Linked DNA regions of Homo sapiens: all the other regions are linked to region 1. Evidence: promoter capture Hi-C in human tissues and cell types (Jung and others, 2019). All regions are on one chromosome and are shown on one strand. Each heading gives the region's core, a stretch centred on a gene start or on the middle of the fragment in contact. The rest is flanking DNA. Distances are from core to core; before and after follow the strand shown. Region 1 holds the start of ZBTB4 (zinc finger and BTB domain containing 4). Region 2 overlaps TP53 (tumor protein p53). Region 3 holds the start of ATP1B2 (ATPase Na+/K+ transporting subunit beta 2).

What was found. Contacts are between HindIII fragments. The study calls those that stand out against the background at their distance.
Region 2: a contact is called between a fragment that was not itself captured here and the fragment with the promoter of ZBTB4 in region 1, in 1 of the 25 tissues and cell types used here (adrenal gland).
Region 3: the fragment with the promoter of ATP1B2 here is called in contact with the fragment with the promoter of ZBTB4 in region 1 in 1 of the 25 tissues and cell types used here (mesenchymal stem cells).

What each region holds. Positions count from the first base shown.
Region 1 is chr17:7,477,079-7,481,824 of GRCh38, reverse strand. It overlaps ZBTB4 (zinc finger and BTB domain containing 4), which reads left to right and starts at 2,194. Exons shown (of 4, transcript NM_001128833.2): 1 at 2,194-2,369. It overlaps SLC35G6 (solute carrier family 35 member G6), which reads right to left and starts at 379. Exons shown (of 2, transcript NM_001102614.2): 1 at 306-379. The coding sequence starts at 308. RefSeq lists silencers at 1,838-2,097, 2,118-2,577, 2,838-2,887. The HindIII fragment of the contact is 10,425 bases long and covers 1-4,605 here.
Region 2 is chr17:7,670,909-7,674,895 of GRCh38, reverse strand. TP53 (tumor protein p53) reads left to right here. Exons shown (of 11, transcript NM_000546.6): 6 at 1-37; 7 at 606-715; 8 at 1,059-1,195; 9 at 1,288-1,361. Among named protein-coding and RNA genes, the nearest start is that of TP53, 15 kb to the left of the region's middle. The HindIII fragment of the contact is 4,764 bases long and covers 1-3,632 here.
Region 3 is chr17:7,648,478-7,653,223 of GRCh38, reverse strand. ATP1B2 (ATPase Na+/K+ transporting subunit beta 2) reads right to left here and starts at 2,298. Exons shown (of 7, transcript NM_001678.5): 1 at 1,594-2,298. The coding sequence starts at 1,705. RefSeq lists enhancers at 1,728-2,370, 2,645-3,145, 3,146-3,646 and a silencer at 2,239-2,388. The HindIII fragment of the contact is 20,754 bases long and covers 1-4,746 here.

The DNA.
Region 1 (4,746 bases), core at 945-3,444:
GATGTTATAATGTGGGCCTGGAGCAGGAAGCAAGGAGTGAGCAGTCCTGGAGCATCGTTTCCCTGGGTAAGTTGTTCCTGGGAGGAGAAAAAGGACCCAGGATGCTCTCTCGGATTGAGGAAGGGGAGGAAGCCTCAGATGCTATGCATCTGTATGATGCCACAGGTTCCAGAGACATCTGGGTACACCATTATGAATTCTATTTGTGGGTATCTCTGAGACAGCTAAGTTTTAGGAAAGGAGGGGAAATGGAGCAACCAGGAGCTATAGGGAGGGAGTACTAGGCCCCTGGCCCCCACACTCACCATCTTTCCTTGGACTTTCTCCTCTCCTCCTGGCTCAGGGAGCCTGGGCCCCTCAGAGCTCCAGCCATTGTGACATGGTTGGAGTGGGGGTGGGGTTCTTCCCTGGAACTCTCCTGAGGTGGTAGCACGCCTATTTTCCCGCTGAGTCCAACTCTGCTTCTTTTCTTTCTTTCTTTCTTTTTTTGTTTGCGACGAAGTTTCCACTCTTGTTATCCAGGCTGGAGTGCAATGGTGTGATCTCATCTCACTGCAACCTCCACCTCCCAGATTCAAGCGATTCTCCTGCCTCAGCCTCCCAAGTAGCTGGGATTACAAGAATGTGCCACTACACCTGGCTAATTTTTTTTTTTTTTTTTGGGACGGAGTTTTGCTCTTCTTGCCCAGGCTGGAGTGCAGTGGTGCGTGCAATCTCGGCTCACCGCAACCTCCACCTCCTGGGTTCAAGCAATTCTCCTACCTCATCCTCCCAAGTACCTGGGATTACAGGCATGTGCCACCACACCCCGCTAATTTTTTATTTTTCGTAGAGATGGGGTTTCTCCATGTTGGCCATGCTGGTCTTGAACTCCTTACCTCAAGTGATCCACCCCACCACCCCCCGCCTCCCAAAGTGGTGGAATTACAGGCATGAGCCACCGTGCCCAGCCCAACTCTGCTTCTTTTCTATTTATGTCTCCATGACTCCAAAGTTTGTCTGATTCTTTTATTCTTTTTATGGCTAGCTCTGTGGCTTTACATTAATTTGTTTATTTATATCTTGCATGGTTTCAGAGAGGTTTTTTTGTTGTTGTTTTTTTTTTGAGACGGAGTCTGTCTCTGTCGCCCAGGCTGGAGTGCAGTGGCGAGATCTCGGCTCACTGCAAGCTCCGCCTCCCAGGTTCACGCCATTCTCCTGCCTCAGCCTCCCGAGTAGCTGGGACCACAGGCGCCCGCCACCACGCCCGGCTAATTTTTTTGTATTTTTAGTAGAGACAGGGTTTCACCGTGTTAGCCAGGATGGTCTCGATCTCCTGACCTCGTGATCCGCCCACCTCGGCCTCCCAAAGTGCTGGGATTACAGGCGTGAGCCACCGCGCCCAGCCTCAGAGAGGTTTTAAGGCAAGGAGCTGTGAACCCTGGCTCCTCCATCTCCTTAGTTTTTAATTTTCCAGCACCAGGGAGGAGTTCTTGGGATTGTCCCTGTGGAGTTTCAGGAATGTGTTTTTTCTGTGTGTGCTTCCACCTGGTGTTTTGTTGATGCTGTCCCCAGAGGCCGACACCAAGGCCTCTGCATTTATGTTCAAGTATACAGATGTGGATCTATCTGCTGGTGGGGACAAAGTACCCAGCCAGCTTCATGTGTTCATTTGCGCTGGTGGTCGTTCGTGTGTGCCCCGTATGCAGGGCCAGGGCCTTCTTTTTCCGCGGCCTGCTGAGCTTTCCTGCGCATTCCTGGAGAGGGTGTGTGTGTGTGTCCAGGGCTGGCCCTCTTTGAGTGTGCCGACCCTGGGTCTGTGAGTCCCACCGGGCCTGATTATGAGTCTGCCATGTCATGTCTGCACCCTGAGAGCCTGTGTGTTATGCTTTCAGGCAGTGTGCACCGCTGAGTGAAGGGCGTGCAGGAGGAAGGGCGGAGGGAGCCCTTTCCCTGGGGGTCGGTGGTCTTGCGCCCCTGCCGGGATGCTGCAGCCCGGCCCGCGCCCCGCTCGGTGTCCACCCGCCCGGTGGCCCAGCGCGGCGCAGTGTCATGCCGCGGGGGTCAGTCCTGGGGAAGGCCGTCGGGCGCTCGGAGCTTTGTGTCGGTGTCGGCTGCGCTGCGCCGGCCTCCTCTCGGCGGCGGCGGCGGCGGCGCTGGGGGGGGACTGTTTCCGGGGGTGGGGGTGGGGGTAGGACCGGGGCGGGGGGAGCCGATGATGTCAGCGGCGGCGGCGGCGGCGGCAGCGGGGCCGGGCCGGGGCCAGGCGCTGGGGGGGCCAGGGCCGGAGCTGGAGCCGGAGCCGGAGCTGGAGGCGGGCAAAACCGGAGCGGCCGGGGGCGGCCACGGTGATGAGCCGGGCCTGGCGGACGCGGCGCCATCGCAGTCAGGTGGGCCCTGGGGCGAACTGGGCAGGGCCAGGGCGGACCGGAGCCAACTGCCAGGCCCCCTCTCCGCTGCCCGGCGCTGCGGGAGCCCCGACCGCGCCCCGCGCCCAGACCGCTCTCCTTTGGGGTTGACCTGGGGGCGCAGGGGTCGGGGGCTGAGCCTGGCCCCGCCCCCGGGCGCGCACGACGCTGGGGGGCGACTAAGGGGGCCCTGGTATGGCGTCCGAGCGAGGGGCGGCCGTGGGACGCGATCGCCTGGGGCCGTGGAAGGGGAGGTGCTCACTCCCTCTTTGAAGGGTTAATTCTGCAGCCTAATGGCCCCCTCCCCCCGTGGGGCAGATTGGGGGTGGGGTGGGGCGGGTGTGAGCCCGGGCAAGCGCTGCAAGCTGCTGGGAGGGTGATGGCGTAGGAGCCAGGCAGAGAGGGGGAGGGGTGGGCCGCCGAGCGCCCCAGAGTTGGGGTGTGCGGGGTGCGCAGGGCGAGCTGGGGCCCCGGAACCGCCGCGCCGTCGGGGCAGGGTTGTGGCTGTGAGTCTTGGAGATCGTGTGTCTTGTGCTGTGTGGTGGGGCAAGGTAAACCTCTCCTGGGCACCACCGTTTGCTGGCAGCCAGGGGTCTGGGTAGGGCCCTCCCTGGGCCATGGAGATAGAAAGCCAGGAAGGGTGTCCAGTGTTGTGGGGCAGAGTTACAAGACGAGCCCTGTGGCTTTGGGTGACAGATGGGTATTCTGAGCAGGGCACAGCATGCTGGGTGCAGAGTTTGTTCGATGTGGGGCTGTATGTTTTCTACAGCATGTGTTTTCTCGCATGTGTGTCTTGTGCTGCACCTATGACCTGTTTATGAACTGTTTTCTGCAGAGCTGGCATGCTGTATGTGTTGCGGAGGGTGCCAGGATGCAGTGTATGTGCCCTTTTGGAGGGGGCGGTTGTGGGCCTTTGAGTCAGAAGGCGTCACGTCTGGGTCCCATTTCTGTGGCCCTGCTGAGGTGTGGTCCAGTGGTGAAGAGGGCGATGGATGGGTTTGCGTGTCTGTGATGAGCGCGTTGCATGGGGGCTGCGCGTCTAGAACTCAGATCCCAAAGATCATGAGAGGAGCGAGGAACCCCGGGGTATGTCTCAGGGGCCTGTGGGTCAGTTGGCACTGGTGTGAGGGGCTCGAGGTGGAATGCGCCAGTTGTGTTTATGGGATCATGGGCAGCCAAGCGAGGGGAAGGTTGTGTGTTTGCAACATTCTCCACAGGATTCTTTTGTGACGTTGTTTGTAGGAGCCTGTCTGGGCTGCTGAGCTGGGAGGCAAACTGGTCAGAAAACACATGTGGGGAGGGAGGTGGCGTGACAAGGGCAGTGTGGGCCTCAGACCCAAGAGGCCAGCCGCAAGCAGGCTGTGTGTGCGTGCCTGCCGTCTGTGTGCTTAAGTGGCGGTGGGGCTGCGGAGGGGATTTGGTATGAGGAAGGCGGGAGATAAATGCAGGGTAGCGCATGGAGGCCGGCGGGAGGCATGGGTGTTGTCAGATGGCCCAGCTAATCTTTGCAGGGTCTGTATGTTTGCCCCTCATGAGCCTGCCCAGCGTGTCAGGGTCACCCGGAGGAGAGGCTGGGCGGCCACAAGGGAAGTAAGCTTAGACAGAGAGGCTCCTTGGCCATGTTTATGTAAAGGCTGGGTGTGACTCTTGTCACTAAAATGGAAAAAAGAAACGTGAAGTTTTCAGCCTCCTCCTGCTTCACCCTCTCCCTCTCTCTGCCCCCCTTGTGGGTATCTCTGACGCACACTGGGCCCCACTCCTGCGACGGTGGAAGGGCCTCAGAACAGAATTCGCTCACTAGGCAGATTCCTCAGAACAGGTTTTCCTCACCTTTGGGGACTGGGCCCTTCTAGGGGTGTGTGTGCAAGTGCATTCCAAGCCTGCACACCACTGTCTACTGTGCCCGGCCCCACTGGAAGGATGTGTGTACGTGGGGGAAGGGAGGGTGCTGCGGACAGGCCCTCCGGCATGGGGGGCTGGGAAGGGGTGGCTGCCGTGGGAGCCTGCTCAACAGGTGCACAGTGACGGTCTGGTGAAGAGAAAGGAGCCATGGTCCAGGGCTGAGGAGCTCTGGCGTCTTTACCATTCCCTCACTGGCACTTGATCTGAAGGAAGCTCAGTTCCTCATCTGCAGAATGGGGCTGATTGTCTGCCCTGCGTATCTTCCAAAAGCACATGGGAAACGGACCCGGAAAGTGGCTATAGTCTGGGGGCTGTGCCTATGCCAGCCCCTGTCAGCCCTCCCCCAGGACTGGGAATTCCCTTCTTGGGGCTTCGCTGATAATAATGGCAGCACACACTTGCTTAGCACTGACCGTGCACCAGCCTGTCCTCAGGGCACTTATATGTGGCCACTCTG
Region 2 (3,987 bases), core at 1-2,500, 190 kb before region 1:
TCGACATAGTGTGGTGGTGCCCTATGAGCCGCCTGAGGTCTGGTTTGCAACTGGGGTCTCTGGGAGGAGGGGTTAAGGGTGGTTGTCAGTGGCCCTCCAGGTGAGCAGTAGGGGGGCTTTCTCCTGCTGCTTATTTGACCTCCCTATAACCCCATGAGATGTGCAAAGTAAATGGGTTTAACTATTGCACAGTTGAAAAAACTGAAGCTTACAGAGGCTAAGGGCCTCCCCTGCTTGGCTGGGCGCAGTGGCTCATGCCTGTAATCCCAGCACTTTGGGAGGCCAAGGCAGGCGGATCACGAGGTTGGGAGATCGAGACCATCCTGGCTAACGGTGAAACCCCGTCTCTACTGAAAAATACAAAAAAAAATTAGCCGGGCGTGGTGCTGGGCACCTGTAGTCCCAGCTACTCGGGAGGCTGAGGAAGGAGAATGGCGTGAACCTGGGCGGTGGAGCTTGCAGTGAGCTGAGATCACGCCACTGCACTCCAGCCTGGGCGACAGAGCGAGATTCCATCTCAAAAAAAAAAAAAAAAGGCCTCCCCTGCTTGCCACAGGTCTCCCCAAGGCGCACTGGCCTCATCTTGGGCCTGTGTTATCTCCTAGGTTGGCTCTGACTGTACCACCATCCACTACAACTACATGTGTAACAGTTCCTGCATGGGCGGCATGAACCGGAGGCCCATCCTCACCATCATCACACTGGAAGACTCCAGGTCAGGAGCCACTTGCCACCCTGCACACTGGCCTGCTGTGCCCCAGCCTCTGCTTGCCTCTGACCCCTGGGCCCACCTCTTACCGATTTCTTCCATACTACTACCCATCCACCTCTCATCACATCCCCGGCGGGGAATCTCCTTACTGCTCCCACTCAGTTTTCTTTTCTCTGGCTTTGGGACCTCTTAACCTGTGGCTTCTCCTCCACCTACCTGGAGCTGGAGCTTAGGCTCCAGAAAGGACAAGGGTGGTTGGGAGTAGATGGAGCCTGGTTTTTTAAATGGGACAGGTAGGACCTGATTTCCTTACTGCCTCTTGCTTCTCTTTTCCTATCCTGAGTAGTGGTAATCTACTGGGACGGAACAGCTTTGAGGTGCGTGTTTGTGCCTGTCCTGGGAGAGACCGGCGCACAGAGGAAGAGAATCTCCGCAAGAAAGGGGAGCCTCACCACGAGCTGCCCCCAGGGAGCACTAAGCGAGGTAAGCAAGCAGGACAAGAAGCGGTGGAGGAGACCAAGGGTGCAGTTATGCCTCAGATTCACTTTTATCACCTTTCCTTGCCTCTTTCCTAGCACTGCCCAACAACACCAGCTCCTCTCCCCAGCCAAAGAAGAAACCACTGGATGGAGAATATTTCACCCTTCAGGTACTAAGTCTTGGGACCTCTTATCAAGTGGAAAGTTTCCAGTCTAACACTCAAAATGCCGTTTTCTTCTTGACTGTTTTACCTGCAATTGGGGCATTTGCCATCAGGGGGCAGTGATGCCTCAAAGACAATGGCTCCTGGTTGTAGCTAACTAACTTCAGAACACCAACTTATACCATAATATATATTTTAAAGGACCAGACCAGCTTTCAAAAAGAAAATTGTTAAAGAGAGCATGAAAATGGTTCTATGACTTTGCCTGATACAGATGCTACTTGACTTACGATGGTGTTACTTCCTGATAAACTCGTCGTAAGTTGAAAATATTGTAAGTTGAAAATGGATTTAATACACCTAATCTAAGGAACATCATAGCTTAGCCTAGCCTGCTTTTTTTTTTTTTTTTTTTGGAGACAGAGTCTCACTCTGTCACCCAGGCTGGAGTGCAGTGGCGGGATCTCGGCTCACTGCAACCTCCGCCTTCTGGGTTCAAGCGATTCTCCTGCCTCAGCCCACTGAGTAGCTGGGATTACAGGCACCTGCCCCGACGCCCAGCTAATTTTTTGTTATTTATTTATTTTTTTTTTTAGTAGAGATGAGGTTTCACCATGTTGGCCAGGCTAGTCTCGAACTCCTGACCTTGTGATCTGCCTGCCTTGGCCTCCCAAAGTGCTGGGATTACAGGCGTGAGCCACCGCACCCGGCCTGCCTAGCCTACTTTTATTTTATTTTTAATGGAGACAGCATCTTGCTCTGTTGCCCAGGCTGGATTACAGTGATGTGATCATAGCTCATTATACCCTCCTGGGCTCAAGCAATCCCCCTAACTCTGCCTCCCCAGTAGCTAGGACCACAGGCATACACCACCATACCCAGCTAATTTTTAAAATTTTTTGTAGATAGATAGAGTCTCACTATGTTGCCCAGGCTGGTCTCTAGCCTACTTTTTTGAGACAAGGTCTTGCTCTGTCACCCAGGCTGGATAGAGTGCAGTAGTGCAGTCACAGCTCACTGCAGCCTCCACCTCCCAGGCTCCATCCATCCTCCCAGCTCAGCCTCCCAAGTTGCTTCAACTACAGGCCTGCACCACCATGCCTGGCTAATTTTTATTTATTTATTTTTATTTTATTTTATTTTATTTTTTTGAGACTCAGTCTCACTCTGTCGCCCAGGCTGGAGTGCAGTGGCATGATCTCGGCTCACTGCAACCTCTGCCTCCTGGGTTCAAGTGATTCTCCTGCCTCAGCCTCCCGAATAGCTAGGACTACAAGCGCCTGCTACCACGCCCAGCTAATTTTTGTATTTTTAGTAGAGACAGGGTTTCACCATGTTGGCCAGGCTGGTCTCGAACTTCTGACCATGTGATCCGCCCGCCTCGGCCTCCCAAAGTGCTGGGATTACAGGTGTGAGCCACCACGCCCGGCTAATTTTTATTTATTTATTTAAAGACAGAGTCTCACTCTGTCACTCAGGCTAGAGTGCAGTGGCACCATCTCAGCTCACTGCAGCCTTGACCTCCCTGGGCTCCGGTGATTTCACCCTCCCAAGTAGCTAGGACTACAGGCACATGCCACGACACCCAGCTAATTTTTTATTTTCTGTGAAGTCAAGGTCTTGCTACGTTGCCCATGCTGGTATCAAACCCCTGGGCTCAATCAATCCTTCCACCTCAGCCTCCCCAAGTATTGGGGTTACAGGCATGAGCTACCACACTCAGCCCTAGCCTACTTGAAACGTGTTCAGAGCATTTAAGTTACCCTACAGTTGGGCAAAGTCATCTAACACAAAGCCCTTTTTATAGTAATAAAATGTTGTATATCTCATGTGATTTATTGAATATTGTTACTGAAAGTGAGAAACAGCATGGTTGCATGAAAGGAGGCACAGTCGAGCCAGGCACAGCCTGGGCGCAGAGCGAGACTCAAAAAAAGAAAAGGCCAGGCGCACTGGCTCACGCCTGTAATCCCAGCATTTCGGGAGGCTGAGGCGGGTGGATCACCTGAGGTCAGGAGTTCAAGACCAGCCTAGCCAACATGGTGAAACCCCGTCTCTACTAAAATACAAAAATTAACCGGGCGTGATGGCAGGTGCCTGTAATCCCAGCTACTTGGGAGGCTGAGGCAGGAGAATCGCTTGAACCAGGAGGCGGAGGTTGCAGGGAGCCAAGATGGCGCCACTGCACTCCAGCCTGGGCGATAGAGTGAGACTCCGTCTCAGAAAAAAAAGAAAAGAAACGAGGCACAGTCGCATGCACATGTAGTCCCAGTTACTTGAGAGGCTAAGGCAGGAGGATCTCTTGAGCCCAAGAGTTTGAGTCCAGCCTGAACAACATAGCAAGACATCATCTCTAAAATTTAAAAAAGGGCCGGGCACAGTGGCTCACACCTGTAATCCCAGCACTTTGGGAGGTGGAGGTGGGTAGATCACCTGACGTCAGGAGTTGGAAACCAGCCTGGCTAACATGGTGAAGCCCCATCTCTACTAAAAACACAAAAATTAGCCAGGTGTGGTAGCACACGCCTGTAGTCCCAGCTACTCGGGAGGCTGAGGCACAAGAATCACTTGAACCCCAGAGGCGGAGATTGCAATCAGCCAAGATTGCACCATTGCACTCCCGCCTGGGCAA
Region 3 (4,746 bases), core at 1,049-3,548, 170 kb before region 1:
TGAGACAAACTGGAAACAGGCAGTTGTGTCTGGCTTCTAGCCATGACTCCCAGCCCCCTCCTGGTCCTAGGGCACAGTGAAGCCCGACCTTGTGGAGGTCTGTTATTTTGCCTCCAATTACATTTCCAACTTCTCAACCATGCATAGTCCTGACAAGGCACACATCTGTTACCTCTGCATTCGTACTCATGCTTAAAGCTGTGCTAGCATGGTGCCTTTTAAAGCGGGTACTGGCCACCATTCACAAGCAAACCCTCATACCACCCCGCAGAGACTGGACCCTCAGATTTGAATAGCAACATCTCTCTCCTGGTGCCCTTCAGAAGCCAAACTTTGAACACAGTTCCTGAAATGAAAGACCTAACACTAGCCTAGCTACAAATCTCTCAGAGACGGCTTGTTAGAACCTTCAACAGTCACCCCACCCTCAGTTCACACCCAGCACCCTGGGCAGAGGCAGGGAGGAAAGGCAGAATCTCCCACAGCCTTCCCTTGGTGGGATCTCTCCATGGCTCCCCCGCCTGAAGTAAGGACCCAAGGGCCGGCTGTTCCCACCACCCTGGACTCCCAATCCTTCCATCTCAGAGGACACTTCTTCCATGAAGTCCTCTGGCTCTCCCAAGCATTGCTGGATTCTTCTCATCCCAGGGGCTGGAGTTTGAGTTCCCTGAGGGAATGGATTGCATGGGACCCACTTCGTGTAGGCCCCGAATGGGTGGACTGATGGGGACGGTGCCCAGTGTGGAAAGATTGTAAATCGTGTCACACAGTGTCCTCTGTCCCCTGTGTCTCAACGTCCCAGCTTGACCATCCCTCTTGGAAGAATTCCACCCCTCACCTGCACCTGTGCCGGTCACCAGACCCCCTCCACCCCCCCAACCCCCGACCACTACAGCTCCCTGAGTCCTGCCATGGTCAGCCTGGGGAGGCTTCCAAGTCATCCGACTGTCACAGACACCTGGCTGGCTGATGCACACAAATCACCACAGCGACCACTCCTCCCTCCGTCACCGACATGGGAGCAAAACCTGCAGCCTCGGTAAAACTCATACTATCAGCAGCCCCCCAACCCACAAAGCAGTCCCAGAAGGCTCCCAAGGCCAGGCGGTGGGATACAGACAACTTCCGCCGTGAAGAACCCCCCTAACACACCCCCCAAGACCCGCCCCCTCATGAACGTTCCCAGGGTCCAGGGGGTGGGCACGAGCTAAAAATAGACGGGGCTGCGGAGCTAGTGAGAGCCGGAGGGAGGGAAGGGGCGCTCTTTGGAGGTGGGGGACGCCCGTGTGGAGCGGACAGGCCCCGAGAGGGAGTGTGAGCGCCGGCGCGGACACGCAGGCGGAGCTGGCGACCCCCCGCCCGAGGGGGCTCCGCGGGGGGCGGGAAGGCGGCTGTGACCTACTTTCTCCGCCTCCGCACGGCCAGCCGGGGAGATTAGACTGGCGATTCGGCCCCCTCCCAGCCCAGAGCCCGGCAGGGAGGCTGGACGCCGGGGACCCGGGAGGGGAGCTGGGGCCGCGTCGGCGGGACCCTGCGCCCCCGAGGCGTCGCCCCGCGGCTTTCCCCCGCCCCTTGCGTGCCGGCCCTGCGTACCCCAGCTGGTCCCGGTGCGGCCCATAAACTGGTGCGTCCTCGGGTTCCACACGAACTCCTTCCACTCCTCAACCACCTGCCCGCAGCTCTTCTTCTCTTTCTGGATGACCATCTTGGTGGCGCGGGGCGAGTCCGGGCGCGGGGCGGGGGGTTGCGGAGAAGCGGGGGCGCCGCGCGCTGAAGCCCTCCACACACCCAAAAGCACGGGGAGCGAAGGCGGCGCGGGCAAAGGAGACCCCCCTCAGATATGCAGCTGCTGCAGATTCCGGGGTGCACGACCACGCGCTGCGGGGTGCTGGCAGCGCGGCGGAAGATGCACCGATCCTAGGCCCCCCAACTGCGATGAAAAGGGGTGCTGTCAGAGCAGGGGAGAATAACAAGAGGAAGGGGTATGAATGCAGCTTCACCCCCCACCAAACCGTCTAGAAACAAAACGAAATGGGGTGCAAAAACAGACGGCTACAAAAACCGAGCAGAACGCAGAAAAAAAGCGGGGTACAAAAAGGCAGAGAGAGGTGGGGGAGGGGGCCGCCCCGAAATCCAAGATGCAAAGAAGCTGTGGAACGAAGCTCAAGGCTCGCTCCGCCAAGCGGAGACCACTGCACCGGTGGTGGCTCAGCCGCGGGGGTGGGGCGGGGACGCGCAGCTGGGGGACAGCCAGGGATGGGGGGCCCCCCAGGCGGAGGCTCCGCTCCTCAGCAGTGCGAGGCCCGCGGTCGCCGAGCGCGGTCTTTATACTCTGCGGCTCTGGGGGTGCCCGCCCCCTTCCCACCCCCAGAAGCTCCGCCTCCTCGCCACTGGCCCAGGCGACCTCATACATATGTAAATATGGAGAGGTTGGGCCCGCCCCCCTGACTTCTCTTAGGGACCTAGCTGTCTCTCCATTACCCCCACCCCAGGTACTAGACTGGGACAGGGTGGGAGGAAGAGATAGAGGGCGTGTCCGGGCGGAGTAGAGGGAAAGATAACCCCAGAGAAACACAACGGCAGAGAGAGAAGCCGATATATGCTCAAAGGTGGGGGCCCCAGGCAGGGAGTTAGAAAGAGACTAAGATACAGATGCGGCGGAAGAGTCCGGGAGCAGATGGGGCAGAATGTCAGAGGAATAAAGAGCTAGAGATCAAGAAAGAGAGCGAAGAGACCAGCCGGGAGGCTGGCCGAGCCAGGAGGGAAGCTAGGACAGGCCCCGCAGAGATGGATAAAGGCCACCCCCAGAGGGACGTTCCCCTGTTGGGAGCCGCTACCAGTCCCCCAGACGCCTCCTTCTCCAATCTCACAGCCCCTGTCCACACCACCTGGCTCTGTCCACGTGCAGAGGCTTCCCCATCTTCCCATCACGTCTCCCTGAAGCCCTCTCAACACCACATTCCCAGTCCCCAGCACTGCCCTGAGATCCCAGCCCTGCAGCCAGGTCTACTTCGGTTCTCTGCCTCCTGGCACCCCCACCCCCACGTCGGAACTCACCTCCTTATGTGTCTACTTGGGTCAACAAACATTTATTGAGCACCTCTATAGACTGTGTGCTGTAGCCCTGGGGAGGCCAGAGAGGTTACACTGAAGCCACATCTCTCACGGGGCTCACAGTCTAGGGCGGGAGTACACTTGCTCTACATACCACATGTTAAGAATCATTATCTCAAGCCGGGCACGGTGGCTTATGCCTGTAATCCCAGCATTTTGGGAGGCCGAGGCGGGCAGATCACGAAGTCAGGAGTTCGAGACTAGCCTTGCCCACATGGTGAAACCCCGTCTCTACTTAAAAATGCAAAATTAGGCCAGGCGCGGTGGCTCACGCCAGTAATCCCAGCACTTTGGGAGGCCGAGGTGGGTGGATCACGAGGTCAGGAGATCGAGACCATCCTGGATAACACAGTGAAACCCCGTCCCTACTAAAAATACAAAAAAAAAAAATTAGCTGGGCGTCGTGGCGGGAGCTTGTAGTCCCAGCTACTTGGGAGGCTGAGGCAGGAGAATGGCATGAACCCGGGAGGCGGAGCTTGCAGTGAGCCGAGATCGCTCCACTGCACTCCAGCCTGGGCAACAGAGCTTCCGTCTCAATAAAAAAAAAAAAAAAAATTAGCTGGGCATGGTGGTGGGTGCCTGTAGTCCCAGCTACTCAGGAGGCTGAAGCAGGAGAATTGCTTGAACCCGGGAGGCGGAGCTTGCAGTGAGCTGAGATCACGCCATTGCACTCCAGCTTGGGCAATAGAGTGAGACTTCGTCTCAAAAAAAGAGAGAAAAAAAAAATCATTATCTCGGCCAGGCCCAGTGGCTCATGCCTGTAATCCCAGCTCTATAGGAGGCCGAGGCCAATGGATCACCTGAGCAAGGGAGTTCGAGACCAGAGGTCAGGAGTTCAAGACCAGCCTGGCCAACATGGTGAAACTGCGTCTCTACTAAAACTAAAAAAATTAGCCGGGTGCGGTGGTGGGAGCCTGTAATCCCAGCTACTCAGGAGGCTGAGGCAAGAGAATTGCTTGAACCTGGAAGGTGGAGGTTGCAGTGAGCCGAGATTGTGTCACTGCACTCCAGCCTGGACAAGAGCAAAACTCCATCTCAAAAAAATGGTATGCATTGAATGAATGAATGAATGAATGGGAGTTGGGGCTGGCCTCTGAAGGGTAGGTAGTCTTCCAGGACAAAGGAATGAAAGGCACAGAGGTGTGAAGTCAGGAGTAAGCACAGTCTACCCCAGGAGTGGCTGGCTTGGCTCCAGGAGAGAACTAGTCGGAGACTAGTGGGAAAGGAGGTTGGGGACACAGCATGGGTGTGGATTGCGGAGTACCCTGCAGGTTAGACTGAAGAATCAGGACTCTATCCTACAGGCTAATAAGAAGCCACTGAAGAACTTTCAGCTGAGGAGTGGCCTAATTAAAGCTGTATTTTGAGAAAATTAATCCCGAATCTGCTGCAGAATAGACTGAAGCATGGCCAGCTGCATAATTGTCAGGATCCAGTGCAAAATGGAAATGCAGGGACCCTTGTTCAAAACCTAGGGGAAAAAATGCCCTTAGAGGCACTAAAATATAAACTTTTTTTTTTTTTTTTTTTTTTTTTTTTTTTGGAGACAGAGTCTCACTGTGTCACCCAGGCTGGAGTGCAGTGGCATGATATCTGCTCACTGCAGCCTCTGCCTCCAGGGTTCAAGCGGTT